Linked DNA regions of Homo sapiens: all the other regions are linked to region 4. The links are contacts of gene promoters, found by promoter capture Hi-C in blood cells and fetal thymus (Javierre and others, 2016). All regions are on one chromosome and are shown on one strand. Each heading gives the region's core, a stretch centred on a gene start or on the middle of the fragment in contact. The rest is flanking DNA. Distances are from core to core; before and after follow the strand shown. Region 1 has its middle 26 kb from the start of GHET1. Region 2 has its middle 16 kb from the start of PDIA4. Region 3 has its middle 29 kb from the start of ZNF786. Region 4 holds the start of C7orf33 (chromosome 7 open reading frame 33). Region 5 has its middle 42 kb from the start of GHET1. Region 6 has its middle 3.5 kb from the start of GHET1. Region 7 overlaps PDIA4 (protein disulfide isomerase family A member 4).

What was found. The method cuts DNA at HindIII sites, captures the fragments that hold promoters and counts their contacts. A CHiCAGO score of 5 or more calls a contact.
Region 1: a contact is called between a fragment that was not itself captured here and the fragment with the promoter of C7orf33 in region 4, in 17 of 17 cell types (activated CD4 T cells, naive CD8 T cells, total CD4 T cells and 14 more). The highest score is 29.4, in activated CD4 T cells.
Region 2: a contact is called between a fragment that was not itself captured here and the fragment with the promoter of C7orf33 in region 4, in 1 of 17 cell types (activated CD4 T cells). The highest score is 6.3, in activated CD4 T cells.
Region 3: a contact is called between a fragment that was not itself captured here and the fragment with the promoter of C7orf33 in region 4, in 4 of 17 cell types (total CD4 T cells, activated CD4 T cells, non-activated CD4 T cells and 1 more). The highest score is 6.7, in total CD4 T cells.
Region 5: a fragment that was not itself captured here is called in contact with the fragment with the promoter of C7orf33 in region 4 in 2 of 17 cell types (total CD4 T cells and activated CD4 T cells); the score reaches 6.2 in total CD4 T cells.
Region 6: a contact is called between a fragment that was not itself captured here and the fragment with the promoter of C7orf33 in region 4, in 8 of 17 cell types (activated CD4 T cells, naive CD4 T cells, non-activated CD4 T cells and 5 more). The highest score is 9.6, in activated CD4 T cells.
Region 7: a contact is called between a fragment that was not itself captured here and the fragment with the promoter of C7orf33 in region 4, in 1 of 17 cell types (activated CD4 T cells). The highest score is 5.9, in activated CD4 T cells.

The regions. Positions count from the first base shown.
Region 1 is chr7:148,960,429-148,963,613 of GRCh38, reverse strand. It overlaps RNY4. Among named protein-coding and RNA genes, the nearest start is that of GHET1, 26 kb to the left of the region's middle. The HindIII fragment of the contact is 4,489 bases long and covers 1-3,185 here.
Region 2 is chr7:149,042,594-149,045,953 of GRCh38, reverse strand. No RefSeq gene overlaps it. Among named protein-coding and RNA genes, the nearest start is that of PDIA4, 16 kb to the right of the region's middle. The HindIII fragment of the contact is 8,171 bases long and covers 1-3,360 here.
Region 3 is chr7:149,060,125-149,063,748 of GRCh38, reverse strand. No RefSeq gene overlaps it. Among named protein-coding and RNA genes, the nearest start is that of ZNF786, 29 kb to the left of the region's middle. The HindIII fragment of the contact is 5,726 bases long and covers 1-3,624 here.
Region 4 is chr7:148,589,015-148,592,169 of GRCh38, reverse strand. It overlaps C7orf33 (chromosome 7 open reading frame 33), which reads right to left and starts at 1,404. Exons shown (of 3, transcript NM_145304.4): 1 at 1,041-1,404. The coding sequence starts at 1,244. The HindIII fragment of the contact is 1,806 bases long and covers 656-2,461 here.
Region 5 is chr7:148,943,503-148,947,143 of GRCh38, reverse strand. No RefSeq gene overlaps it. Among named protein-coding and RNA genes, the nearest start is that of GHET1, 42 kb to the left of the region's middle. The HindIII fragment of the contact is 8,358 bases long and covers 1-3,641 here.
Region 6 is chr7:148,982,247-148,985,854 of GRCh38, reverse strand. It overlaps RNY3. Among named protein-coding and RNA genes, the nearest start is that of GHET1, 3.5 kb to the left of the region's middle. RefSeq lists a silencer at 2,398-2,497. The HindIII fragment of the contact is 1,142 bases long and covers 1,665-2,806 here.
Region 7 is chr7:149,011,726-149,014,918 of GRCh38, reverse strand. It overlaps PDIA4 (protein disulfide isomerase family A member 4), which reads left to right. Exons shown (of 10, transcript NM_004911.5): 4 at 1-15; 5 at 2,559-2,764; 6 at 2,915-3,073. Among named protein-coding and RNA genes, the nearest start is that of PDIA4, 15 kb to the left of the region's middle. RefSeq lists a silencer at 1,942-2,108. The HindIII fragment of the contact is 2,555 bases long and covers 648-3,193 here.

The DNA of each region.
Region 1 (3,185 bases), core at 407-2,906, 370 kb before region 4:
CAAGAGGCTAAGGTAGGAGGATTGCTTGAGCCCAGGAGTTTAGAGCTACAGTGAGCTATGATTGTGCTACTGTACTCCAACCTGGACAACACAGTAAGACCCTAAAAAGAAAAGGAGGGGGACATTTATGTAAGAATGCTTTCCCCCCAACATGAATATTTTGTAAAGTTAGCTTGTTTGATTGAAATACAAAATCAAATGGTAAAAAGCCAGTCAAATTTAGCAGTGGGGGGTTGTATACCAACTTTAGTGACACTAATGTTAATAAGTTCTGATAACCCACTACCATCGGACCAGCCAGAAAAACTGCTTTCACTTTCATTTTATAAATCTCTGAAGTGGCTACTCTAAATAAGTTAGGATGAGTTATTTTAAGAATTCTCCAAAAAGTCTGATATTATATGACCCCTACAAAATAATACTGCAAAAAGCCATACATTATCTGATTATCTTCCTTTAATTTTAAATAGCTTAATGCAAACTGATATTCAAAATAAATGTAGTTGCATGATGGGAAATAGACGTAAATTACCAAATGGAAGCCTCTTGTCCTTTGCAAATACCTGAAGACATTCATGAATCAAAGAAAAGTAAATGAACATATTTGTGTCAAATGCCCAGCAATAGAAACGTTGAACATTTAATGTCAACAAAATGAGCTTTGGTGTTTTTTTTTTTGTCGTCTCCCTGCCTGTGATCTGCAAAATGCCTTCCTGAATCAAGGCAGCAGCAGATGGCAGCAGTGCCCAGAGCATGCACTTTCCATCCACTTTCCCACGGAGCCTGGACCAGAGAACTCCTCACCCACGAACACACTGTTTTCACATCACCCACAAACACGCTGTATTCACATCACCCACGAACACGCTGTGTTCACACTGGTTGTTTCCTGGGACTTTTCCTGATAATCCTTAATAGTTCCTATAAATCACATGGGTACGCCAGGTTTAATATGCTCAGATCTCTCACCTTTCAGACAGGTTGCTGCTGGCATTGAGAAGTTGCCATAATCCTGAAAACAGCCTTTTACCAATGGTTTTATCAATGAAAGCCAAATCCCTCTCAATGATTAGATATAAGCACTCTCACTGAGTTTAGTAAGAAATCCCACATTAACCAGAAAAAAAAGGAATGAAAAGGATTAGAAAGTGATCAATAAACCTTAACTATTATTATCTTTGCCTATCAAATCTCAATTTTCCTGTTTTAAGTCATTCATATTTTAACATACCAAATGTTAAAGTATTAGGTTGGTGCAAAAGTAATTGTGGTTTTTGCCATTAGTTTTAATAATAATTGGAAGGTTTCAACTGACAGAAGAAAATGTATGTTCAAGATTATGATTAACTTGAATGCTTAGGAAATGTCACTTTCTTTCTTTCTTTTCTTTCTTTTTTTTTTTTTTGAGATGGAGTCTTGCCCTGTTGCCCAGGCTGGAGTGCAGTGGCCTGATCTCGGCTCACTGCAACCTCCTCCTAGGTTCAAGCCATTCTCCTGCCTCAGTCTCTCAAATAGCTGGGACTACAGGCACATGTCACCATGCCCGTCTAATTTTTGTATTTTTAGTAGAGACGGGGTTTCACTGTGTTTTCCAGGCTGATCTCGAACTCCTGACCTCAAATGATCCACTCTCCTCGGCCTCTCAAAGTGCTGGGATTACAGGCATGAGCCACCGCGCCTGGCTGGAAATGTTACTTTCTAAGGCATAACATTCCCCACCTTCATATGTATTGAGCTCAGCTAATCCCAGGAATTTTTTTAAAGTAATTGGAATGAGAATTATAATTGTTCTGGGACCTGGGCTTAGAGATGTGAAGGGCTGAGGCTTCCGGAGAGAGAGTGAAGAATACAGAAAAGACACAGTCCCTACCCTCAACTTGGTGATTGCTCCAGCAGTGATTAGGACAACTTTCCAAAGTAGACTAGCTGAGATTTCCTGGAGGGCTGGCCAGCTGCTCTGCCTCCCGGGTTCACGCCATTCTCCTGCCTCAGCCTCTGGAGTAGCTGGGACTACAGGCATCTGCCACCACGCCTGGCTAATTTTTTGTTTTTAGTAGAGACGGGTTTTCACCGTGTTAGCCAGGATGGTCTCAATCTCCTGACCTCATGATCTGCCCACCTCGGCCTCCCAAAGTGCTGGGATTACAGGCGTGAGCCACTGCGCCCAGCCACATCTCTTGTTAAAACATAAATAATCAACTTCTGTTTAACATGGTAGGCTGCCCACCAGCAATTGCCTCAATTCCTTTTGGAACCATTAAAATTAGACTGAAATAATAAAAAAGGAGCAGAGAAGAGAAAGAAGACACACTTGCATTCCTTCCTCTGCCCTGGAATGAGGTTTGGGGGTGTGGGGCTGGAGAGCCATCCTGAGACCACGAGAACAAAAGCCCTCACTTAGGAAGGCCTAAGAGAAAGAAAAAAAAGTCTTGGTGCATTGATGACAGGTGGGGCACTGCTCCAGTTCTGGACACGGCCCACCTCCATACTTTCTGCAACAAGAGGACACTAAATCTGCATGAGTTTAAGCCACTGTTACTGGGTTTCCTATGACACACAGCTCAACAGATTCCGAGCCATTAGAGAGAGTATAGAAAGTGTGAGATATGGACGGCTGGATCACTGGTGGGGTATGAGGAATTTTAGCTAGCACTGGATGTAAAGTTAGTAAAGTTCTTCAAGGAAGAACAATCTTAGTTTGACGATAATATGTCTTTAACACCTCCCATTTGTTAAGCTGCTTTTTTTTTTTTTTTTTTTTTTGAGACGGAGTCTTGCTCTTGCTCTGTCTCCCAGGCTGGAGTACAGTGGCATGATCTTGGCTCACTGCAACCTCCGCCTCCCAGGTTCAAGCAATTCTCATGCCTCAGGCTCCCAAGTAGCTGGGATTACAGGTGGGCACCACCACGCCCAGCTAATTTTTGTAATTTTTAGTAGAGACAGGGTTTCACCATATTGTCCAGGCTGGTCTCAAACTCCTGACCTCAGGTGATCTGCCCACCTCAGCCTCCCAAAGTGCTGGGATTACAGGCATGAGCCACCGTGCCTGGCCAAAAAAGTTGATTGTGGTTTCATGTGCATATACATTTGCCAAAAGTCATTGAACTGAATAATTAAAACGGGTACATTTTATTGTATACAAATTAAACTTCAATATGGATAAGAAGAAATAAATCTCTACTCAG
Region 2 (3,360 bases), core at 182-2,681, 450 kb before region 4:
GTATTTTTTAAATTTTTTTAATTTTTTTATTTTTTCCTGAGTTGGAGTTTAGCTCTTATTGCCTAGGCTGGAGTACAGTGGCACAATCTCGGCTCACTGCAACCTCCGCCTTCTGGTTTCAAGCAATTCTCCTGCCTCAGCCTCCTGAGTAGCTGGGATTACAGGCCCCCGCCACCACGCCCAGCTAATTTTTGTATTTTTAGTAGAGACAGGGTTTCACCATGTTGGCCAGGCTAGTCTCGAACTCCTGACCTCGTGATCTGCCCACCTTGGCCTCCCAAGCCCATCCATCTTTATCCTGTCCTCTCAATTCTTGGAAGTACAATGCATAGAACTTTTATTCTCAGCCATTTGAGAGTAAATTGCCTGAGGCTCCATTACCCTCCAAACAAGGACATTCTCCTACATAACCACAATGGCACCATCAAAATCAGGAAACTGGAGTGATACCATCAAAATGATACCATAACCATGAAAACCAGGAAACTGGAATGAAACTGCCAATCCTTAGGGCCCCTTCACGTTTTGACAATCGTTCTAATAATGTCCTTTTCGCAAAAGGAGCCAGTTTAGAGTCGCCTGCTGTATTCAGCTGTCCTGTCTCTCTAGTCTCTTTCAGTCTAGAACAGTCTCAGTCTGTCCTTGACTTCCGTGGCCTTGCTGCTCTTCAGGACTACAGAAAAGTTATTTTGTCAAATGCCCCTTAATTTGGGTGTGTCTGCTATGTCTGTCTTCCTGAGAAAGTTCAGGGTCATTTCTTGAGGAGCATGTCCAGAAGCGATTCTGTGTTCTGTTGCAACTCAGCAGGTGGCACACGATTCCAATTTGTTTCATTACTGGTGATGTTCACTTTCATCACTTAAGTTAGTGTCTGCCAGATTCTTCCACTATAAATAAGGAAGTTGCTTCCCCCCCTTTTTATTTTTTTATTTTTTATTTTTTGAGATGGAGTCTCACTTTGTCGCCCAGGCTGGAGTGCAGTGGCGCGATCTCGGCTCACTGCAAGCTCCGCCTCCCAGGTTCACGCCAGTCTCCTGCCTCAGCCTCCCAAGTAGCTGGGACTACAGGCGCCCGCCACCACGCCCGGCTAATTTTTTTGTATTTTTAGTAGAGACGGGGTTTCACTGTGTTAGCCAGGACAGTCTCGATCTCCTGACCTCGTGATCCGCCCACCTCGGCCTCCCAAAGTGCTGGGATTACAGGCGTGAGCCACCGCGCCTGGCCCCTTTTCCCCCGTCTTGATAACTTTCTAGTATTTTTGTGATTTTTGTGGGGGTAATTTGAAATCATGTGAATATCCCATTCCTCATGGAGTTTTTCATTTATTCCTCTGCAGATTTTATACCTCTATGACTCATCATTTCCTGTAGTCCTGTTTTATCCCATGCATTGTAATCCTTCTCTCTCATTATTTTGATGCTCTGTCTCAGATTTGGCCAGTGGGAGCCCTGTACACAGACATCTGTGCCTTTTGCATGTCCCTGGCATTCTTTGGGCAACTTCCTTGCTCTCTCTGGCACAAAAAGATGTTCTGGGTTCATTTATATTTTCCCTGTCCTGATACTGCAATCAACCATTTCTCAAAGGAGCCCTTGCTCCTTTTAATGGAGAATGGTTAGAAGCCAAGAACTGGACACGGGATGTGCTCGTGGCTATTTAAGTGTGGCCATGTCTAGGTCCTCTCAGTGGGCAGAGCTAGGATGTGCATACATGGAACACACATGCAAACACAGAACACACATGCGAACACAGAACACAGTGCACACATGGAGCACATGCGAACACAGAACACACGTACACACATGAAGCACATGTGAACACAGAACACACGTGCGTACATGGATCACACATGTGAACATAGAACACACGTGCATACATGGAACACATGCATACCTGGAGCACAGAGACATCTTTACACATACACTTATTTCCATATCTTTAAACATTTTTACTGCTTTTTTGAGGTCTCACTGAAAAATAAACATTGCATATATTTAATGTGTAGTGATGATCTGATATTCATGTACACTGTGAAATGATGACCATGACCAAGCTATAACATATCTTCCACCTTCCCTAGTTACCATTTGTGTGGTGAGGACACTTGAGACCTACTCTCTGCACGTCTCAGGTATACAACACGATATTGTTAACTGTAGTCACCATGCTGTACTTCCAAATCTTTTTTTTTTTTTTTTTCGAGAGAGTCTCGCTCTGTCGCCCAGGCTGGAGTGCAGTGGTGCTATCTCAGCTCACTGCAAGCTCCTCCTCTCCGGTTCACGCCATTCTCCTGCCTCAGCCTGAGCTGAGGACTACAGGCGCCCACCACCACGCCCAGCTAATTTTTTTGTATTTTTAGTAGAGAGGGGGTTTCACCACGTTAGCCAGGATGGTCTCCATCTCCTGACCTCGTGATCCGCCCACCTCGGCCTCCCAAAGTGCTGGGATTATAGGCATGAGCCACCGTGCCTGGCCAATTTTTTAATTATTTATTCATTTTTTGAGACAGAGTCTTGCTCTTCACTCAGGCTAGAGTGCAATGGTGTGATCTCGGCTCACTGCAACCTCCGCCTTCTGGGTTCAAGGAATTCTCATGCCTCGGCCTCCCAAGTAGCTGGTATTACAGGCATGCACCACCATGGCCGGCTAATTTTTGTATTTTTAGTAGAGACAGGATCCCACTGTATTGCCCAAGCTGGTCTCAAACTCCTGGCCTCAAGTGATCTGCCCGCCTCAGCCTCCCAAAGTGCTGGGATTACAGGCGTGAGCCACCACACCTGGCCTCTAAATCTATTTTTTAAAATGACTTTAGGTGGTGTGTGGCTCAGGCCTGTAATCCCAGCACTGTGGGAGGCCGAGGTGGGAGGATCGCTTGAGCCTGGAAGCTGGAGACCAGCCTGGGCAACATTGTGCCTGGTCAGAAATGTGTTTTTGGTTAAAACAGTTCATGTGTGATTTTGACGGAAGGCAGATCCAAGTCCTTGTAAGGAGGGAACTGAGACTAATATCTGCAGCCCTCCAGTCCCAGACTCCCCATTCCACACTCCAGGGCTCCCACTGTCTTCTGGCATTTGCTTCCTAAACTACAACCCAGCCAGCTCCACTGCTTACTTCTTGGACATTGTTGTCCAGCCCCTTGGAAAACAGTTGGAACAGCCGTTGGGCTCTGAGCAACAAGGCCCTTTTATTTCAGTTAGATGCTGGTGAGAGCTGCTACCTGCAGCATTCCTGACAACATTTATCCTGGAGCCATCCCTTCCCTTCCCTCCCTTTCCCTCCCCTCCCCTTCCCTCTTCCTCCTCTCCCCCCTCCCCCCCCTTCCTTCCTTTCTTTCTCTCTCTCTTGCTCTCTCTGTCTCTC
Region 3 (3,624 bases), core at 781-3,280, 470 kb before region 4:
TATTCCACCTCTGTCAGGGTATAAATCTGCTTTGTTTGCAGCACTGGTTAACTTTTGAAAAGAGGAACAGCAAAATCATCACAAGTCTATTCCTGGAATTATGTCACTAAAGCCTAAGTCAATTCACATGATGAATATTCTGCCTTCTCAAGATTTGTGTCCTAACTCCTTCCCCAATATAACAAAGGTAGAAGGGCTTTTAAACATTACTGATGAGGACAGGTGTGAAGCCACCCTGAGACAAAAGGAAATGTGTTTGGGGTTCCAAGTGGCAATGACCTTTGACGACATGGCCATCTGTTTTTCAATACAGGAGTAGGAGAATCTGGATGGATATCAGAAGGAACTTTACAAGCAGGGGATGAGGAGTATCTGTGAAGCTCTGATCTCTCTAGGCAAGATGGGTTTTTGTTGAAAATTTGAGAGTAATTCATGAAATCAGAGACTAAGCAAGTCTCTGCAGGTTACCTGTTCTTTCTGTTGGCTGCTTGGTTGGCCTCTGGAGACAGCAACCTACTTATCAGTAGGATATCCTGAGAAAAATTATTTCCTTGATAATTATGCCTAGTTCATGTCTTCCAAGTATCCTATTTGCCTTATAATACCTTAATCAAATGCTTTATTGCCACCAATTTCTTAGGGTCTCTGCATTTTGGCTTTATTGTCTTAGAACGCAACCCACAAAACAGCCAGAAGTGTATGTGCCAGTTAAATCAATGCTCATCTTTCCAGAATTTTCATTCCTTTATTTAATTCAGGAGAAATCAATAAACACTTATTGCATACTTCCCATGTATCAGATTCTGGGGTAAGTAGAAAGATAAATAAAATATAGTCCCTACCTTCATGGGGCAAATAGCCCACTGAGAGAGACATATGGGCCGGGTGCAGTGGCTCACACTTGTGATCCCAGGACTTTGGGAGGCCAAGGCGGGCAGATCTCCTGAGGTCAGGAGTTTGAGACCAGCCTGGCCAACATAGTGAAACCCGGTCTCTACTAAAAATACAAAAATTAGCCACGCATGGTTGTGGGCGCCTGTAATCCCAGCTACTGGGGAGGCTAAGGCAGGAGAATTAATTGCTTGAATCCGGGAGGTGGAGGTTGCAGGGAGCTGAGATCATGCCCCTGCACTGCAGCCTGGGTGACAGAGTGAGACTCCATCTCAAAAAAAAAAAAAAAAAAAAAAGGCATATGTATTGCGTGAGGGCACTTTTGCTTGCAGATGACAGAAACTCAGCTCAAAGTACCTAAAGGAAAAATAAAAAGTAGCTTATAGGTTCATGTAATAGGAAGCCCAGTGGTCGGATTGTCTTCACAGCTGGCTGGGTGCAGGGGCTCACGCCGTGGTTCAGGGCACTTTTGTGCTCTTTCTTCTTAGTTTTGCTTCCCTCTGTGTTGACCTTATTTTCTCCAACTGCATAGGTTTCTTTCATATGCTGAGAATGATAGTTGCCAATGGCCCCAATTTCACTTCATGTTCCCAAAGGTGTTCTCCAGATAAGGCAGATTTACAATTGCCCTCAGCATTTTTTCTTTTTTCTTTTTTTTTGAGACAGAGTTTCACTCTTGTTGCCCAGGCTGGAGTGCAATGGCACAATCTCGGCTCACTGAAACTTCCGCCTCCTGGGTTCAAGCGATTCTCCTGCCTCAGCCTCTCGAGTAGCTGGGATTACAGGCGCGCGCACAAGGCCCAGCTAATTTTGTATTTTTAGTAGAGATGGGATTTCACCATATTGGCCAAGATGGTCTCGAACTCCTGACCTCCGATAATCATCCCACCTCGGCCTCCCGAAGTGCTGGGATTATAGGCCTGAGCCACCGTGCCTGGCCACGCTGTCAGCATTTTTAAAGGCTCAGAGAGGCCCTGCAACAAATAAACCTGTTAAACTTTGTTTAATCTGTCATTTCCCAAGTTTATTTCATCTGAGAACCGCCCCCCCCCCAACTTTTTTTGTTTTTTTTTTAACAGAGTTTCGCTCTTGTTGCCCAGGCTGGAGTACAATGGGGCGGTCTTGGCTCACTGCAGCTCTGGCCTCCCAGATTCAAGTGATTCTTGTGCCTCAGCCTCCGGAGTAGCTGGGATTACAGGCGCCTGCTACCATGCCCGGCTAATTTTTTTTTTTTTGGAGACGGAATTTCGCTCTTGTTGCCCAGGCTGGAGTGCAATGGCGCAAGGGGGCTTGGCTCACCGCAACCTCTGTCTCCCGGGTTCAAGCGATTCTCCTGCCTCAGCCTCCCAAGTAGCTGGGATTACAGGCATGTGCCACCACACCCCGCTAATTTTGTATTTTTTTAGTAGAGACGGGGTTTCTCCATGTTGGTCAGGCTGTTTTCGAACCCCTGACCTCAGGTGATCTGCCCGGCTCAGCCTCCCAATTCTGGAAAGATGAGCATTGATTACAGGCGTGAGCTATTGCGCCTGGCCTGTATTTTTTATTTTTTTTTAGTTTTTTAAGATGGAGTCTTGCTCTGTTGCCCAGGCCGGAGTGCAGTGGCGTGATCTAGGCTCACTGCAACCTCCGCCTCCCAGGTTCAAGCAATTCTCCTGCTTCAGCCTCCCAAGTAGCTGGGAAAATTAGCACACCGCCACGCCTGGCTAAGTTTTTGTATTTTTACTAGAGATGGGGTTTCACCAGATGCCCAGGCTGGTCGCGAACTCCTGAGCTCAGACAATGTGCCCCGCTTGGCCTCCAAAGTACTGGGATTACAGGCGTGAGCCACCGCTCCCGGCCTAATTTTTGTATTTTTAGTAGAGATGGGGTTTCACCATGTTGGTCAGGCTGTTCTCGAACTCCTGACCTCAGGTGATCTGCCTACCTCGGCTTCCCAAAGTGCTGGGATCACAGGCATGAGCCACCGCACCTGGCTGAGAACACTTTTTACAAATATTTGGTAGCCACACCCTTTAGGACTGGAATTCTGTGGAATTCACTTTGGGAAGTATTGTGAATTTCTTATACAAAGGACGGAGCAATTAATTCTTCCTGTGTAGGTTTCACTAAGGAAAAGTCGGTTGCTCTAGGCCTTAAATGATTTAAAAAGAGAAAGAAAAAAATATTTTCCTGGGTTAAGGAGATGGGAGAGGGCATTTCAAGAGGGTTTGAGAAAAGACAAAGGGTGGTGAAAATGGAGTGCGTTCAAGACTGCCCTGTCATCTTTTGTGGCTAGATCATAGGATTCTTTGGGGGAAAATGGCAGGAAATAACCTGTGTGAGGCCAGCTCATGGACGGCCTTGAATGCTGCATTGGATTTGGCCTGCATCCTAAAGGCATTAGGCTGCCACAGGGGCTTTAGAAATGAGAAGGGAATGATCTGTATATTGGAAAGTTAACTGATCACATGATGTAGGTTGAATGAATCTGGAGAAACTGGAAGCAAAATGGCTAGATAAGAAGCTATTTCTGCTGCAACTTCTCAACTCTAACTCTCCTGTTACAACATGAAAGCAGCATAAAAGATACATAAACAAGTGAGAGTGGCTGTGTGCCAATAGAAATTTATTCATGAGTTCTGAAACTTGCATTACATATCATTTTTACATGCCATGAAACATCCTTCTTTTGATTTTTTTTTTTTTTTTTTTTGAGATGGAGTCTTGCTTTTTTTGAGGCTGGAGTGCAGT
Region 4 (3,155 bases), core at 155-2,654:
GTCATTCTTCATATCAGAAGATACTCTGAGCCTGTGGCATGTGTCAGTTTGGGGCACTGTGCCACAATGAGGGTGTGGGCAAATGGGAAGAAGCCAGGAACTGCAACATGGGAGAAAACAAATTAGGGCTGGAGAACTAGGTGGGGACACCTGTGGTTCCCATCAAACTGAACACCCAAAGCTGGAGATAAATACAAAGTGGGAGCTCATACTTTAACCAAAAATGCCTGCCTAGTGGGAGGCAGGGGCTTGGGGATCAGGAGGTGTCAAAGATCAAAGACAGGCAAAGAGTTAAGGATCCAGGTCTTGCTGGGCATGGGTGGCACTTCGGGATGTTGAAGTGGGAGGATCGTTTGAGGACAGGAGTTCAAGACCAGCCTGGGCAACATGGCAAGACCCCATTTCTACAAAAAATAAAAAAATTAGCTAAGCCTGATGGCACATGGCTGTAGTCCTAGCCACCCGGGAGGCTCCTCTGGGAGGATCACTTGAAGCCAGGAGGTTGATGCTGCAGTGAGCTATGATTGTGACACTGCACTCCAGCCTGGGTGACAGAGCAAGATACTATCTCTAAAACAACAACAACAACTCCTGGTCTTTAAAGCGAGAGAAGAGACAAGAATCTAGGCAAGGAGAAGGGAACAGGTGCAAAGCTTGTGCCAAAGGGTGACCAAGATAGAGGCTTCCTGTGGACCCATCTCCAGGGCAAAACATAGTCTGAGAACAAGCGCATTCCTTCTACCACACTGTGTGAAAATATACAATTTTTACGCTGGAATTTTTCAAATCAACATGACTCAGGCTAAACACAAGAATACTCAGTGGAGTGTTTTGTGAGGATTCTTTTCCCTAAGAAGATTCCAGGCCTTCTTTGGGGCAGTGAATTAATCTCTGTCTCTCTCTTTACTTCAATGTCGTTAAGCCCAGTTCCATAACACATAGTAGAGAGTCAAAAACATTCATGGATTGAGTGAATGAATTCTCAAGAGATACTGACTGACTCAAAGAGCAGTTGATTCATCTTAGAATCATTAACTTACCTTATGTCTTCCCGTGGCATATGACAAGTTAAATTGACCTGGACCGCCCCTAACGTGGACCCAAACAGCGACTGCCCTCCCACTCAGGCGAAGGTCAATCCGGCGCCTTGCCCCACTGGGCAGGAGGGCTTCACATTCACATTGGGGGCCTGGAAGTCTCCAGGGACACTCTTCAAGGCTGAGGCTTTGAACTTCCACTTGCATTTTGGCAAAGGTAATTACCTTTCCTGGATGCTGTCAAGGAGAGCGGCGCTTCACCACCAATATCTAAGATCAAGTCGCACGGATCCCCAGGGTCAGTAGGAGGATTCAGACACAGGCTGGGCGCCTCGCTCCTGACCACTGGATTGGCATCACCATAAGTAAGGTCACAGCTGAGTAGAAAATGCCTGAGGCAAAGTGGGGGTGAAAGAGGGGCCACCGAGCAGTGTGATAGGCAGCCCCTTCCGCCAGCTCATTATCCCCACCTGCTCCTGTCGTCTCCTATTAGAATCCTAATGCGAGTTTACGGAAAGTCAGCTGGAGCTTGTCCTCCATGTAATTCAGATCACGTTGCCTGCAGCTCTTAGGTACTCAAATAAACAGAAGGACTAATATTACTACTGAAAAAGTAATTAAGGGCATTCATTGTAAAGTAATAATGATTACCTCACCCTCACCATATGGCCAGAACTGATTAACACCTAGAAGAAATGATCTAAAACCTCTACAATCAGAATTAATGTCTCAGGTCATAATGAGAAACATTTTGTAGCGGGGTTTGGCAGGGAAGGATGAAAAAGTGGTTGGGAGTTTACTAAATCAAGAGGCACAAACAAAATATTGAGGATAACATCCTTTTTCAGGATTTTTCATCTCATTCAGATTAGACAAGTTGCATTTTTAGTGTAGAACCCATATCACAAATGCAAAAAATATTACAAGATTTACACATTGGAATTGTCACTTAATTGGATGAGTTTTTCCTCCATTGTTTCTTTTATAATGATGAGGAATTGATGGAAGAATCTCCATCGAGGCTGGCAGTTTCTTAAATCACCAGGGAAGGGCTTAGCCCACTGATTGAAAATCTTCTTATCGTAAATTACTGGTTAAAATGCTATTTGTTGTCAGGAGTATCATGGAGTGTGATTTAATCTCTTAAGATTAGTTAAAGTGGTAGAAATGTTAGCATTTCTGGGTAATGCCAAACAGGTTAGCATTACAAAAGATGCCTAGAAAGATACGGACCCATTTGGAAGACAAGGTTGCTGTAAAAGCCAGTTTGCAGGTGCACCGTGGGGGGTGACAGGATGCCCTGGGCTGTTCTTGATTAGTGCGTGTGCCCTAGGGTCATGTGGTGAAGCATAAGGAAGCAGAATTTGGGATATTTTTCCCACCAGAATCCCTAAGATTACTCTGTGTACTGCTGGGGAAAAGCTTAATGGGCTCAACACCACCCTTGAGGGAAGGCAATAATGGAATCTCTTTTTTCTGCAAATACTTCCTTGGGTGGTGCATCATGATTCCCTGAGGCAGGATTTCCTGCAGCAGAGCTGGAGGGGCTGGAGGGGCTGGTGGGGCTGGTGGGGCTGGTGGGGCTGGAGGGGCCAGAGGGGCTGGTGGGGCTGGTGAGTCTAGAGGTGCTGGAGTTCCAAGAACTTGGCCTGGAATCTTGAACCTGCAGCCATACATTCGGACTCTAGCTTTGCCTTTTTACTTATCTGTCTTTGACCACTAAAGAAATAGACAGACCTCATAATATTATTTCCTCGACTGCCTCTTAAAAGTCAAAACCTTAAGTTAAGGACACCTCACATTTTGGTCAAGACCAGTGGACCTAGGTAAGAGTAAATCAGAGAATTCCCAAGGTGGAAGAAGTTATTCCTAGACAACGAATGAATCCCCTGGATTTGGGTTGCGGAGTGAGGTGACCAGCTGGTCACCCTGGGGGTGGACTGAGCCAAATGCCTAAGCCTCATTGTTGTTTTAATAACCCAAGTTGGATTCAGGGAGTACCTGTGCAATTCTGTGATTAGCACATCGGGCAGTGAGATTTCCGCACGTTGTAGCTGAGAGGCCGGCTGCTGAGACGACCCCTTAGGGAAAAGTGGAAAACTCTGCCTCCAGAATGGA
Region 5 (3,641 bases), core at 8-2,507, 360 kb before region 4:
AAAATCTTGGGATACAAAGCTAACCAGGCGGCCTGCGCTGTAGTCCCAACTACTCTGAAGGTTGAGGTGGGAGGATCACTTGAACCCAGAAGTTCGAGGCTGCAGTGAGCCGAGATCGCATCACTGCACTCCAGCCTGGGTGACAAAATGAGACCCTGTCTCAAAACAAAGCAAAATAAAAACTTGGAGCCCAAGGCAGGAGGATCAATTGAGGCCAGAATTTTGAGATCCCAATATATATACATATTTTTTTGAGACGGAGTCTCACTCTGTCACCCAGGGTGGAGTGCAATGGTGTGATCTCAACTCACTGCCACCTCCACCTCCTCGGTTCGAGCAATTCTCCTGCCTCAGTCTCCTGAGTAGCTGGGATTACAAGTGCGCGCCACCACGTCAAGCTAATTTTTGTATTTTTAGTAGAGGAGGGGTTTCACATATTGTCCAGGCTGGTCTCGAACTCCTGACCTCATGATCCGCCCACCTTGGCCTCCCAACATGTTGGGATTACAGGCGTAAGCCACTGTGCCCAGCCACAAAAATATTTTTATTTTCTTTTTTTCCCCAGATACTTCAGAGATGGATACGAAAAATTTTTGTTTGTTTTTTGAGACAAGGTCTCGCTCTGTTGCCCAGGCTGGAGTGCAGTGGCACGATCTCGGCTCATGGCAACCTCCGCCTCCCAGGTTCAAGTGATTCTTCTGCCTCAGCCTCTCGAGTAGCTGGGACTACAGATGCGCACCACCACGCCCTGCTAATTTTTGTATTTTTAATAGAGATGAGGTTTCACCATATTGGCCAGGCTGGTCTCAAACTCCTGACCTCGTGATGTGCCCTCCTCGGCCTCTTTCCAAAGTGCTGGGGTTTACAGGCTTGAGCCACCGTGCCTGGCCTCGAAAATATTTTTTAAAAATTATCCAGGCATGGTGGCACGTGCCTGTAGTCCCAGTGACTTGGAAGGCTGAGGTGGGAGGATCATTTGAGCCCAGGGGTTCGAGGCTGCAGTGAGCCATGAGTGCATGCCACTGCACTCCAGGCTGGGTGACAGAGTGAGATTGCAACTCAAAGGTAAATAAAATAAAATAATAAATAAAACCAAATGAGTTTGTCTTCAGAAGCCGTGGAATATTCTTTTTGGTATCTCTGGGGCAGCAAATTTTCCTCTTTTGAAGATAGATTTGCTTTTTAAAACGGTCCAGAGTCCATCAAAGTCAAGGACGTTGAATATGATAACGCAATGGGAAGCACTGTCTTGGCAAAAATGAAGTGATGTAAAATAACACGACCCATTTTCTTGCATGGGTCACACTTCAACTTTGAAGGAGACTTTCAAAACAGAAGGGTTCCAAATATGCTTCAGCAATGGCAGCACTTCTTGGTAAAGTGCATGTATTAGTTATTGATGGCTGCATAACAAACAAACCCAACACTTAACAACTAACATTGATTTCCTCACACTAGCTGTGGGTCAGGAATCTGGCCACAGTTAGCTGGGTGCTCAGGCTCAGGGTCTCCCACAGGCTTGAAATGAAGGTGTGGTCCACGGTTGTGGTCATCTCAAGGCTCAGTTGGGGAGAGATTGGCCGCAAGCCCTCTCACAGTGCTCAGGGCCTCCCTGGCTGTTGGCTGCATATATAGCTCTTTGCCTCTGTAGGGCTGTTCAGTACGTGACAGCTGGCTTTCCCCGGCAAAGGAGAGAGGCACTTTACTTTTGTCTTATTCTATTCCTTAGAAATGAGTCAGTAAGTTCAGATTACACTCAGGAAGAGGGAATTACACAAGGGCACAAAAAAATTAGTGCCAGGAGGCAGGATCCTTGCAGAGTTCCCTGAAATGCAAGGGATGATAGCATTCATTTCAACAAGATATCTTTCTCTCTCTCTCTCTCTCTATGGTTGTTTTTACGTTTTTCATGTTCTGTAAGGATGCTACTTTTTTCCTTATATTATATACACAATATATAATATATATCATATCATATACACAATATATAATATACCATATCATATATACTATATAATATATATCATATCATATACACAATATATAATATATATCATATCATATACACTATATGTAATATATCATATCATATACACTATATAATATCTATCATATACATTATATATAATATCTATCATATACATTATATATAATATCTATCATATACATTATATATAATCTATCATATACATTATATAATCTATCATACATTATACATATCTATCATATACATTATACATAATATCTATCGTATACATTATACATAATATCTATCATATACATTATACATAATATCTATCATATACATTATACATATCTATCATATACATTATACATAATATCTATTATATACATTATACATAATATCTATATTATACTATATACATAATATATGTTATATACATATGTTATATACATAGTATATGTTATGTTATATACATAATATATGTTATATTATATACATAATATATACATAATATATGTTATATTATATACATAATATATACATAATATATGTTATATTATATACATAATATATACATAATATATGTTATATTATATACATAATATATACATAATATATGTTATATTATATACATAATATATACATAATATATGTTATATTATATACATAATATATACATAATATATGTTATATTATATACATAATATATACATAATATATGTTATATTATATACATAATATATACATAATATATGTTATATTATATACATAATATATACATAATATATGTTATATTATATACATAATATATACATAATATATGTTATATTATATACATAATATATACATAATATATGTTATATACATAATATATACATAATATATGTTATATTATATACATAATATATACATAATATATGTTATATTATATACATAATATATACATAATATATGTTATATACATAATATATACATAATATATGTTATATTATATACATAATATATACATAATATATGTTATATTTACATAATATATACATAATATATGTTATATTATATACATAATATATACATAATATATGTTATATTATATACATAATATATACATAATATATGTTATATTATATACATAATATATACATAATATATGTTATATTATATACATAATATATACATAATATATGTTATATTATATACATAATATATACATAATATATGTTATATTATATACATAATATATACATAATATATGTTATATTATATACATAATATATACATAATATATGTTATATTATATACATAATATATACATAATATATGTTATATTATATACATAATATATACATAATATATGATATATTATATACATAATATATACATAATATATGATATATTATATATTTTTGAGATGGAGTCTTATTCTGTCGCCCAGGTTGGAGTGCAGTGGCACAATCTTGGCTCACTGCAACCTGCGCCTCCCAGGTTCAAGCAATTCTCCTGCCTCAGCCTCCCAAGTAGCTGGGATTGCAGGTGACTGTCACCACTCCCGGGTAATTTTTGTATTTTTAGTAGAGACGGGGTTTCGCTATGTTGGCCGGGCTGGTCTAGAACTCCTGACCTCATGATCCGCCCACCTTGGCCTTCCAAAGTGCTGGGATTACAGGCTTGAGCCACC
Region 6 (3,608 bases), core at 986-3,485, 390 kb before region 4:
AACCTCCGCTTCCCAGGTTCAAGCGATTCTCCTGCCTCAGCCTCCCGAGTAGCTGGGATTACAGGCATGTGCCACCACGCCCAGCTAATTTTTTGTATTTTAGTGGAGACGGGGTTCCTCCATGTTGGTCAGGCTGGTCTCGAACTCCCGACCTCAGGTGGTCCGCCAACCTCGGGCTCCAAAGTGCTGGGAATACAGGCAAAAACCACCACACCCGGCCTTGAATTGTAATTCTCAGGTGTTGAGGGGGAACCTGGTGAGAGGTAACTGAATCAGGAAGTCAAGACTTAAGGGTCTCCTCAATCTAAGTCCCGAGGCTTTTCCCGTACAGCTAGCTTGCTGCTTCTTCAATAATAGATATGCCTTAATTACAGTGATTGTTCAAGCCAACTGATGTTGCTATGATCACGTACCAGCTATGAACACAGGACTGTCACTGTATCTCAGGAATAATGGCAATTAAATGATATTGCAAGAGAGTAACAGTCTATTGGCCATAGTCACCATTTGATATTTGCAAAGGAATACATTTGTATTGTGTTTTATAAGGTACAGGGTATTTTCATATGACCTATTTCATTTAATATTCTTTGCAGTCCAGTTAAATTAGTATGACAGACATTATCATTTTACAAATGAAGAAACTGAGGTTCTGAGAGAGATCACATAAGCAGCCGAGAGTCAGCCACTGAGTTCATTGCTTGCAGAGCCAGAATAACCTTTCTTCCCCAAAAGTATTCTCTCTGCTACCCCGCAAAGAAAAACCAGCAATCAAACAATGTCAACAAAGCCATGAAACCAATTGCTGTACTATTCCAGTCAGTGGAAACATTGCTAAAAACTAAAAGATAGATGGATGGATAGTTAGGAGGGAGGGAGAGAGAGAGAAAAAAGTATGTAGTTGATGGTGGAATAACTGTTAATATGGACACTACGAAACTAACACGAGAGCAGAGTCAATTTCTCTGACTTTAGGTTGATTTCATTCCACAGATATGAGACTGCACAATTCTATCAGTCTTGATGACATATGTATCCTATCTCCAGAAACTTCCTAACCAGATAATATCTGCAAAGCAATAATGAATGCCCAGTGCAACTATAAGGCCAGCTCAGAGTAATATGATAACTTGAGGAAGAAAAGAGTTTGGCATTAGTTCTTTCCTAAGACGTATTTGAATAAGATAGGATTGTCAGATAAAATACAGGATGCCTGGTCAAATTTGAACAATAGTGTAAATAGATTTTTAGCATAAGTATGTCCCAAATATTGCACACTATATCCTACTGTCATTGCACAGACAGTAGTTTGAAGCCAAAATAATTTTGATTTGCAAAAGCGCGGCATTTGCGAAGAGAAAGGGGATATTTTCCAATACCAAAATCTTTATGTTTTACAAGAAAAGCAAAGCTTGGTGGATCCAGGTTTAGAGATAATACCATGAACCATCGTGTCCGAGGTGAGCAGTTTCCCCACCACACAGTAAAGAGGAAAGCTTCGTGTCTGCATCATTTCTAGGTTAACAGCTTGGGATTTTCTTCATCTTTGATCTTGCTAATACTGTATTAACACAGACAAGCTTAAGCACAGATGTGCAAAGTGTTTTACTTTTCAGTGTGAAATAGAATCATGCTATGTACATTACTTTGCAATTTGAAAAGCTTGCTCTCTTACCACTGCACTCTGCGGACCTTTGCCCTCTCCTGGATCCCTCTTCTTCATGCCTGACACCGTGGATAAGGAGGTGCGTGAGACATGGTTCATTCCTTAGGTCACCTAAACCTATGGTTCTCCTTATTCTCAAGGTACAATTCAGAGACGAGGGGACCTCCCTTTTCAACACGGAGCATGCCAGGCTCCTAAAAACACTTAATGTGCTCTGTCCACTAGTCATCTTCACTGGCAAGTAGTGGTGTGCTTAAGAAAAACCTTCAGGCAGGATCTTGGCTGTTCTGTATTGGGGAACAGAAAATGCTTTCCCACCCCAAAACCACAGCAAAAGGCTAGTCAAGTGAAGCAGTGGGAGTGGAGAAGGAACAAAGAAATCTGTAACTGGTTGTGATCAATTAGTTGTAAACACCACTGCACTCGGACCAGCCGAAACACAAAGGCACGCTGCTACTTATATAAGCCTCGAAAGTTCCATCTCTACCATAGTTACGGTGACTATTCACAGGAGCTAAAAAAAAGGAAGAGTATAAATACACCCCAAATAGAAAGCAAATGTTTAAAAAATAAAACTGTTAAACACATAGACTTTGTAAGAAAAAGGTCCTTCTCTCTTCAGTGACATTAAAGGAGCTCGGGCAACCCTGCTCAAAGCATTGTGGGTGATTTGCATGGAAACCCTGCATCAGCCACATCCATCAAAGACTCCCACGGTGCCCCCGGCGGGGCCTCAGTCTCACAGGGCCAGGACGTCTAGAGCGGGAGGGGACGTCCTCTTAAGAAGGAAGAGGCAACCCGCCGCGGGGGTGGGGCCGGGCGGGCGGGGGCCCCTTGGAATTCAGTGGCCCCCCCGGGATCAGGGGTCCCCGCGGTTCGGTGGTCCCGGACCCCACGCAGGGCTGGCGCGGCCCCCCACGCCCGCGCCCCCACCCCCGGTTCCCCGTGGAGGGGGAGCGTGTGTCCTGCGAGGAGCCCTGCAGCCCGGCGTCCCCTCCCCTTTTCCTTCCCAACGACCCTCTTTAAAAATGAATGAATGAATGTATGAATGAATGAAGTCCCAGATTCTGGTGTCACCCACGATGCTTTTCTTGAGCTTTCCAAGGTTTGTTTTGTTTTGTTTGAGCTCTTTAGGAAGCTTTCCTGGCGGTTTCGCCATAGTCCTGCGCTCCTGTTACCAAGTGGTTTTGTTTCAAAGCGGCTGCACTGGGGACCTTGAGCTATTCTGGAAGGAGGTTAGGAACCCCACTCTAAACAGAAAGGGAAACATTCGGTCCGTGGAAGCTAACATTTTAAAATACATAATTAGCAATTATCTTTTTAAAAAGTGACGCCGTGGAGGAATGAGGCGCACAGAGCCTCGGAGAGACTCCCGGGGGCTGAACGCGCACCTGGCTTCTCAGCAGGGGCAGCCTGGGCCCCCAGCCCTGGGCCGCACAGCGGGTCCCAGGAGCTGCCGGGTGGGGCAGGACCCGACACGAAGGGCGAGGGGAGCGCAGCCTCGGGGGTCTTTGCCTTTCCAGGCTCTGCAGTGGGGGCCCGACCCCTTGACCCCCAGAGCGGGTCATTTTGAACAATCCTCTTACTACAAAATTATTTTCAGTAAAACGCATGAAATAATCAGTATGTATCACTGGATTTTGCGATTAGTCCATTAATTTTAAAAGAAGCAATTAACAATTTAAAAAAGAAGATATGTCCATTTTAAAGTTTTTTTTTTTCAAATTTAGAAAAAGATTTCATGTTATGAAATGAACTTTCCACCTACCAAGTATTATATCTTGTGTTCCCTGCGTAAAGGCTGTGTGTTTTCACTTTTACATTAAACACACTTAAATTTTCTTTCCTTTTTTTCTTTTTTTGAGACAGGGTCTCCTCGCTCTGTCGCCCAGGCTGGAGTGCAATGGCACGATCTCTACTCACTACAACCTCTGCCTCCCGG
Region 7 (3,193 bases), core at 676-3,175, 420 kb before region 4:
GTTTTATGCCCCATGGTAAGGTGGTGTCAGGCCCTTTCCATATTCAGTACCCTGGTGGGCACTAGGTGCGGGGTGGCAGGCCCCTGCCCGTGAGGCAGGAACAGCAGAGGAGCAAGGTGGGCACGAGTTGTAGGCCAGGATTGAGGCTCCAGGTCTTCTGGAAGAAGCGTGGATGTAAGAGAGCTGTTGGGGGAGTGAATGTGGAAGGAACTGCCAAGTAGTCCATTCTTGGGTGGGAGAAGGGACCCAAAGGAAAGAAGATGGCAGAAAGAGAGGTGGTCGGAGTGGGAGCAAGTACAGTGGCTGGTCTGAGCTGCCCAGCTTGGGGAACTGAGGTGGCTGCTTCATGGGGAGGGGAGGGGAGGGACGCACAACCAGTTGCGTGGATAAGCTGGCAGCAGTCAGAGTAGAGAGCAGAGCGGAAGAAGACGGCTCTCAAGGGAGAGGGGAGCCTGGCTTCAGGAGAGACCATCTGCCTTCCCAGGAGACGGCCCAGGGTACCATCTGTCTTGGTGATTTTGTGGTGGGTCAGCTGTGGTTCTGGTTCTTGAGCAGTCCTGGTATGTCTGACCATCAGGCCACCAAGAACCGCCTCAGATGGGTGTGTTCTGTAGGGAGTCTGGGAGAGTCAGTAAGCAGAGGAAGCTTTTGGGCCTAGAACCAGCAGGTGGAGGCCATGGCTGATGCACAGGCCGGGGGGTGGGTGGCACCTTCTGCACTGTGGGGTCAGGTTTGGGACCAGGACACCCTTGTTCCAGGCAATGCCTGGATAAGCCCAAACCTGAGGCCACAGATTCTGCAGCAGAAACCTGGGAGTTGCTGGATGTGCAGATGAAAAGTGAAGTCAGGTGGGTGGTTAGAGAAGGAAATGATCTGGGAGAGAAGGAAGGAAGCGTCTGGGACACGTGGGGCACCCTTCTAACCCCCTTGCGATGCTGGAGAGACACAGACCCTTGTTTCGCTATGCATGGGGCCCTGGCCTGATGGGTGGGAGGTGTGAGAGGGAGAGTGGCAGCTGCACATCTAACTGGTGGGTTGCTTTGTGGCTCGCTCAGGAGCCAGGTTGAGCCGACTGCTGCACAGTGCACGCTCAGCGAGTGTAGTGCGATTTCCCTGAAGTGGTTGATGATGCCTCAGAAGATAATTATCCATTTATTCACAAACAGTTTTTTGGTCTTTTGATGTGTTTTTGTGTGTGTGGTGGGAGGTTGTTTGTTTTTTTTGTTTTGTTTTCTTAGGTTTCTTTTGAGATAAGGCCTTGCTTTGTCACCTGGGCTGGAGTACAGTGGCACCATCATAGTTCACTACGCCTTGAACTCCTGGGCTCAATTGTGCTGCCTCAGCCTCCCTAGTAGCTGGGACCACAGGTGTGTGCCACCACGCCCAGCTAATATAAAAAATATTTTTAGAGATGAGGTCTTGCTATGTTGCCCCGGTTGGTCTTGAACTCCTGGCCTCAAGCGACCCTCCCGCCTCAGCTTCTGGAAGCACTGATATTACAGGAATGAACTACTGTGCCAGCCAACAAATGGTTTTGAAGTTGCAAGATGCACCCTTTAATTCATTTGGGTGTCCTAAGGACTTTGACAGGATGGTGTTTTATCTTAACTCAGGACTGAGAGCCTCCTGTGTGCCAGGCCCCAGCTGGGTGTGGGATGTTGGTTCTTTTTTGAGACGGAGTCCTGCTCTGTTGCCCAGGCTGGAGTGCAGTGGTGCGATCTTGGCTCACTGCAACCTCCGCCCCCTGGGTTCAAGCGATACTCCTGTCTCAGCCTCCCGAGTAGCTGGGATTACAGGCGCCCACCACCATGCCCAGCTAGTTTCTGTATTTTTAGTAGAGACGGGGTATTGCCATGTTGGCCAGGCTGGTCTCAAACTCCTGGCCTCAGGTGATCCACCTGCCTCGGCCTCCCAAAGTGCTGCGATTACAGGAGTGAGCCACTGCGCCCGGCCAGTTCTTGTGGGCAATGGGCTGTGTGACGCAATACTGACTCCAAGGGACTCTCCCTCATCTCCTCCCTGGGTGGTCTGTGTCAGTGAGGGTTTGTGACGCTCTTCTGTTCTCCATGCCTCTGTTCTTGTTACCTGGACCTGCCGACCCTCTCTTCGCCCCACCTCCCGTGGGCTCCTGGCTAATTCCTCGCTGTCCCTTGGATCCTAGCTCCACTGCTACTCCTCCTCTGAAGCCATCTATGACTTACATCCTTGCTGGCCCCCAACTCTCCAACCAAGAAAGTCCTCTTGCTCAGGACAGTGTCTCTCTTGGCCTCTCCATGTTTTCCCCTGTGCCGCAGTTACTAATGTCCTGTCTGTGTCCTGTACATGTGTGTACGCATGCTCCACCCCCAGTGTGTGAATGCTGTGGGATGAAGTTTGTGTCTGTCCAGCGGTAGCGCCCTCAACAGCACCTGAGGGCCTGAGGGTCTAGGAGGCATTCGGAGGCTTACTGGGTGTGGCCAGGTTACTAGGGAGCACAGGATGGGTTTCTGCAGCTCATTTAGCTAGAAAGTGAGTCCACACTAGAATGAGCCCCTGACAAACCAGTTTCCTCTTGGCAGGTGTGGACACTGCAAGAAACTTGCCCCCGAGTATGAGAAGGCCGCCAAGGAGCTCAGCAAGCGTTCTCCTCCAATTCCCCTGGCAAAGGTCGACGCCACCGCAGAAACAGACCTGGCCAAGAGGTTTGATGTCTCTGGCTATCCCACCCTGAAAATTTTCCGCAAAGGAAGGCCTTATGACTACAACGGCCCACGAGAAAAATATGGTATGGCCACTCCCTTCTCTCCCACTACAGTGGGGAAGGGAAACTCCCTAACAGGAAGCTGCCATTGAAGGTGCTGGGGGCTGGCAGGCATGGGCCATGGGAAGTGGGCAGTTCTTAGTGCCCCTGCTCAGGCGTGTGCCCTGCTCCCAGGAATCGTTGATTACATGATCGAGCAGTCCGGGCCTCCCTCCAAGGAGATTCTGACCCTGAAGCAGGTCCAGGAGTTCCTGAAGGATGGAGACGATGTCATCATCATCGGGGTCTTTAAGGGGGAGAGTGACCCAGCCTACCAGCAATACCAGGATGCCGGTGAGTTGTGGCCCTCTGGGCTGAACAAAATGTGCGTGCCTTGGGCCGTCTGCGGTTGCCTGGTTTTTCAGAAAGCTCCTGGGACATCCATTAGGGGGTGGTTTGATGAGCCATCTCTGG